2 separate regions of the Homo sapiens genome follow, and region 1 is linked to region 2. The links are contacts of gene promoters, found by promoter capture Hi-C in human tissues and cell types (Jung and others, 2019). All regions are on one chromosome and are shown on one strand. Each heading gives the region's core, a stretch centred on a gene start or on the middle of the fragment in contact. The rest is flanking DNA. Distances are from core to core; before and after follow the strand shown.

Evidence for each region. The method cuts DNA at HindIII sites, captures the fragments that hold promoters and counts their contacts. A contact is called where the count stands out against the background at its distance.
Region 1: a contact is called between the fragment with the promoter of OR4D1 here and the fragment with the promoter of VEZF1 in region 2, in 1 of the 25 tissues and cell types used here (adrenal gland).

The regions. Positions count from the first base shown.
Region 1 is chr17:58,147,131-58,149,994 of GRCh38, reverse strand. OR4D1 (olfactory receptor family 4 subfamily D member 1) reads right to left here and starts at 1,611. Exons shown (of 4, transcript NM_001386095.1): 1 at 1,411-1,611; 2 at 199-566. The HindIII fragment of the contact is 15,992 bases long and covers 1-2,864 here.
Region 2 is chr17:57,986,740-57,989,680 of GRCh38, reverse strand. It overlaps VEZF1 (vascular endothelial zinc finger 1), which reads left to right and starts at 1,427. Exons shown (of 6, transcript NM_007146.3): 1 at 1,427-1,602. The coding sequence starts at 1,570. It overlaps LOC101929185 (a long non-coding RNA gene), which reads right to left and starts at 1,571. Exons shown (of 1, transcript XR_001752716.3): 1 at 1-1,571. It also overlaps a transcript of SRSF1 not described here. RefSeq lists enhancers at 825-964, 985-1,034 and silencers at 1,185-1,464, 1,535-2,014, 2,095-2,164. The HindIII fragment of the contact is 6,267 bases long and covers 1-2,941 here.

The DNA.
Region 1 (2,864 bases), core at 362-2,861, 160 kb before region 2:
ATTCTCACATATTATTCCCATGTTTATAAGTATAGTAAGTACCATAAATTATCTCCACTTTACAGATAAGTAAACTGTGGCTTGAATAGGTTAACTAATTTCTCCCAGATCACATGGAGAAGAAGAAGCAGAGCTGGGATTCTGAGCCAGGTCTGATTGACCCAGAATTTGCACTCCTAATGACTATTCTCCTCTTACCTGCTCTCCTCTAAGAAGATTCAGCTTCAGCCAAACTTATCTCTTCTTCGGTCCCTCAGGTCTCAGTGCCTTCATCCAGTCAGTGCCGCATCTGAATTGCTTTTCTGTCCTGTTCACCTGTCTGAATTCTACCCTTCCTTCAAGGTTCAAGAGTAATTAGCTCTTCCATAATGTTGCTATGCCTTGGTATTTTTTCATGAGGATGGCTCTGTTCCTCACATGTGTTGTAATTTCAGTGCAAATCCAATATGTTAAGTATTACACAGTACGTGGTACACACAGACCCTTTCTCATAGTTGGTTCCCAAAAGAATGTGTGATTGCTTAATGGAGGACAGGGTGCTGGGATGGGCCAGACTGCCGTGAGAGCTGGGAAGAAAGAGAGAGTAGCCACTGGATAGAATGCAGTTTATAGGACCTCAAAGAGAATCCAAGAATCCTAATTCCCAGCATCACCAGATTTACAATCCTAGAAGCATCATCTTAGCATGGCCCGATTCTTTCCACAAACCCATCAGAATCTTTGCAAATGCTTCCTCCCCCTACATGCATAGAAAATAGATTTAGAGGGATTCTAGACAAGAAAGAAAATAGACATAGGGAGGGACATGGATCTGTATGGGGAAAGGGGAGGATTCTAGACCTCTTCTGTTGTTACTCAATCTTCTCTCCCATCTGTCTTTGCTCTTAGAAAATCAGCCCACACAGGACTAGGAGAGACGAGGGGAGAAGGAATAAGTGGGTTCCCAAAATGGGGTAGAATCTAGTCTGTTGTCATCCAGGGAGCATTAACAGGTATTGTTAAACACAAGATTTAAGAAAAGAGAGGATAAGATGGAGGGACAGCAATAAAGAAGGGAAGAAAATCTGGAGTGAGTGAGAGAAGCAGGCAGGAGAAGGGGGAAGATGGAGGAAGATGAGACTTAAAAAGGAACAGTAGAGGGTGGAAAGTGTCAGAGCAAGACCTGTTTGTGTTTTCTCCTAGGTGTGGGAAGAAGCTGTAGTATGTATGTGGGAGGCGGGGGAGATAACAGTGTATGTCTATATTCCGCTCTCCCTCCCACCCTCTGTTCTAAATTCCACCCAGCACATAAGCCAATACAGACAAAAGTCTTAATGTTAGATAAAATCAATGTTTCCCAAATCCCGTTCCCCTTGCATTAATGCCTGATGACTTCCCCCATGCCTTCCCTCCACCCCATGCTTGTCTCACGATAGGCTTTGTCGTGCTGATTTGTCCATGGGAAGGACAATGAGGCCATCACCTTCCTCCAGCCCACAGTGGCCAAGAGGACTTAGAGCCTCCCATCTCCCAGGTCACTCTTCTCCTGTAGCTCCATTCTTCTCCTGGCCTCTCTCAGACAAGGAACACATATGGGATTGGCCTTAAGGAAAGGGAAATTCCTTGGGGAGTAAAACTTAGGCTTAATTCATAAGATAAAGCCTGGCTCAGGCTGCTAAGGGCAAATGAGCAATGGGAGTTATTAAAAAGTATGTGAGATGTTGCATCAGATGCACATAATTATTGGGAGACTGTCTTGGGGCCAACATTTCAGAGTTACTGATCAAAGGACCAAGATGAAGAAGGATAAGAACCCTAAAGAGACGTGAATTCCCAGGGAGGTTTACAAGAACCAAATCCCTCAGCACCATGGGCAGTGCAAGGCCTCCACCCTCTCCTATCACCACTGTAGTTGGAAAAGTGAGTTATGTCCTAGGACACAGTCCAGGTCACCCCCTCTATAAACTCCAAAGCCTTTTTCATATGTACAGTCATTAAGGTACCATCTCTTATCCCAATCTCTGATCTGCTCTTCTCTCAGCCAAAGTGAACTCTCAATGTAAATTGGCTAAGTTCATCCTCAAGATATAATTCAACTACCATAAGCTTCACAATTATTAAATGATTTTAACCATTCAGTGGTTTTTAGTATATTCACAAACTTGTGTAACCATCACCACTACCTAATTCCAGAACATTTTCTTCGTTCTGAAAAGAAATCTCATATCCTTTAGCAGTCACTGCCCATTCTGTTCTCTCCTCAGTCTCTGGAAACCACTAATCTACTTTTTGTCTCTGGATTTGCCTGTTCTGGACATTTCCTAAAAATTGAATCATATAACACACATATGATGATATATGGCTTTTGTGTCCTGCTTCTTTCACTTATGTTTTTAAGTTTCATCTGTACTGTAGCATGTACCAGTACTAGTCATGTACCAGTCATTCCTTTTTATGACTGGATAATATTACATCATATGGATATACCACTTTTGTAAATCAGTCAGTCAGCTCTCGGACATTTGAGTTCTTTCCACTTTTTAGCTATTATGAATAAAGCTGCTAGGAATATTCATGTATAGGATTTTGTGTGGATGTATTCTTTCATTTTTCTTTGGTATATAGCTAGATGTGGAATTGCTGGATTTTATAGCAACTGTGCCTAATCTTTTGAGGAATAACCATCTTACTTAGAATAGTGAGAGTGAAGTGGCATCTCATAATTTTCGCATTTGTATTTATAAAGAATATGGTCTGTAGTTCTTTTCTTGTATCTTTGTCTGGCTTTGGTATCAAGATAATGCTGGCCTCATAGAATGTGTTAAAAAGTGTTCCCTTTGCTTCTGTTTTTTTTTTTTTTTTTTACAAGAACTTGCATAGTATTG
Region 2 (2,941 bases), core at 178-2,677:
CCAGACCAACGTTTTCCAGCCCCTTCATTCTGGTGACTGAGGGGAGGAAAGAATGGGAGGGGGTATTCTTGTCTAGTGGATGGAAAGGAAACACACTGTCAAATTACTATATCTCCTTGGTTTTCTATTACAGTAGAATTCTCCAGCCATATTTTTATTGTCTATGGGGGAAGTTGGAGATGGTGACCTTGATTAGAAGTGTCTGGAGGGGGATAAATGGAGGGGATAAGATTCAGTTGGTTTTGGAAAATGTTAAAGTCTTAAAATAATGCGTCCATCTGAAGAATTTTTTCTAAAACCAGAGTTTATAAAAATATCACTGATACAGCCTGCCCCCTCATTTCCCTGCCACAGGAGATGTCTTGGACTAGAGACACTTGTTTAATAATAGCTTGTCTCTGATATTCCCAGTAGCTTCCCTCTGTGTGAGGAAAGGATAGAAATGTTCAGGACATCATCATACAGGCTCCTCATCTACAAAGTTCCAGTAGCAGTGACGCCTACACGGAAGACTTGGAACTGCAAACAGGCTGGGGTCACCTCAGTGACATCTGACGCTGTCCAACCAGAAGTTCGATTTTTGTTCTGGGGGTGAAGGAGGAAACAGACTGTACTAAAGGACTAAAATAATTTGTCTATACTATCTCACTTGTTTTTATTTTTGGCGGGAGAGGAGGGGTGTTGGGATAGAATTTCACATCCTATCTTGGAGTGAAGGGGAGGATGGGGAGGCTCAGCCCTTCACCCAAGAATAACCCAGTAATGACATCTCTACGCGTGGGAAGTGTTTCCCTCCACACTGAGAGGATCTGAGGCTGCACCCCAGTGGGATTCCCTGCTTGAGTTGGAAGGCCATCTCGCCATGAGATGCATATCATAGCGAGAGCGCAGAGGGCTTAGCCGGCCGGGGAGGAAATGCCAAAAGGAAGAGAGGCTCGAAGTCGAAAGGGCTTCCCCCAGTTTGGAGGTGGGGACCATGCTGTGCATGAGCGACTGAAGAGCCGAGTGTCCGCCGTGGCCTGTGCCCTCCGCTGAGGGTCTAACAGGGACGCGACGGTGCTGGACACCGTGTCTGAGTCACGGGAGACGGCCCAGCTGTGCCCAGCGGGCCAGCGCCAGACCCTGGCGTCCTCCATCTTCTCTCCTGAGCTCCCCCTGCTCCAGCTGCCTGAGCCACGGACCGCAGCACCACACACCCCCGCGGGGGGGGACGCCGCGCCCCATCCCCGCCCCGGGCCCCACCCCAGCCCCCCCGCGGGGGCCCTGACCCCACCGCCAGCGGGCACTGGCTGAGCTCCGAGGCGGCGAGCCGGCAGCGGGGACGCCCAGAGGGGGTCCGGGCGACTGGGGGCGGCGGCGGCCGGGCCGGGGCTCCCCCCCCGCCCGCGCTCGCCGCCGCGGTGGTGCGTCCCGGAGGTTACCGGAAGTGGCCGCGCTCGGCGCTGCCATGTTGAGGAGCCGCCGCTGCCGTTGCCGCCGCCGCCGCCGCCGCTTTGTTGTCGCCTCCTCCGGCTGAGGAGGCTCCCCGAGCGGGGGGAGTGGGGAGGAGGGGGGTCGGCCGCCGCAGCCATGGAGGCCAACTGGACCGCGTTCCTGTTCCAGGTACTGGGGGCCCCCCCGGGGGGGCACGGGGGGGACAGGGGGGCCGGGCCCCGGGCTGGCGGGCGGGCGGGCGCTCCTCCTCCCCTCCCTCCCGGCTCCGCTCTCCGGCCCGGCCTTAATCCCCCTTTGTTTTTCCGCCCGCCCGCCCCGGCGAAGCGGGGCTGCTGAGGTGAAAGGAGGCGGCCTCACGGGGTGCGGGGGAGATAGCAGGCCGCGGGGTGAACCCGGGGGCCCCCCAGCACACACACGCACACACACACACTCACACACACCCTTCCCTCTCGCTCTGAAGGGGAAGGGAGGAGGCCGGTCGCTGTCACCACCCCGCGGCCCAGAGAAAGGAGGGCGCCGGGCCGCTGGATAGCGCGGGCTGCTGGGCCATTGCGTGCCGGCCCGGTCCCCCACGGTGGGGTGAGGAGGTCCCCAGGTCCTGCCCTGAGTCTCCTCCCCGCCACTTCATCCATCTTTCGCTTGTTCTCTTTTCACCTTCCTCGTCTTTTTGTGTGTGTGCGTGCGTGTGTTGACTTTCTGACCCCCTCCCGTGTCCCCGCGAATAGCGGGTATCCCCAGGTTCCCCGCCACTCCCCCTCACCGCCACCACCCCTCTCGTGTTTACCCAGTTGGGGGGGCGGATGTTGTGAGTGTGTATCCCCTCCCCAAACTTTTTCACTGGATTTACATTTTTTTTTCCCAAGTCTCAGCCGAGCCTTGGCAGCTGACACCTTCTCCCTCTGTCCAGCTCTCCCGCCGTCCCATTCAGCCTGGGGAATCCCCCAGCCGGGCCGGCCCGGGGCAGGCGGGGAGCGGTGGGGGCCGGGACTCCTGGAGGCCCGACCTTCTCCCGAAGCGCTTTTCTTTCTCGCCCACCTCGAACGTTTCCTCCAACCAAGTGGAGAGAGCAAACAAAGTCCGCTTACAAAGCCCCCAGATGAGTCACTCTCTGGGATGTTGGTCTTCGCTTTTTTGCAAGAAACTTGAAAGTGACTGTAGCCGATGTGTTTTGGCAATTCTCTTGCCCGCCCACTTTAGATGGGGGACCCCTGTTTGGCAGATCTAGGCTGGAACTTATTTTTTTCCTACTTCGTTTCTGTTTGCAAAACGAAGCATTCAGTGGGCAGTAGCGATGAGCTCACGGGGAAACTTCGGAACTGGAGGAGGTTAGGAAGCTCGTCACTTTTAAGTGCGTTCTTCCCGCCTCTCTGAGTTATTTTCCTTTGAATACTTCGTGAAATCCCAAACGCGTAGCTGGGGCGCTTGATACCTTTTGAAACTAACAGGAACGGATGCAGAATTTTCAAAAAATTATTCTCCCAGCCACTGGATTCATCCTAGTGGAGTT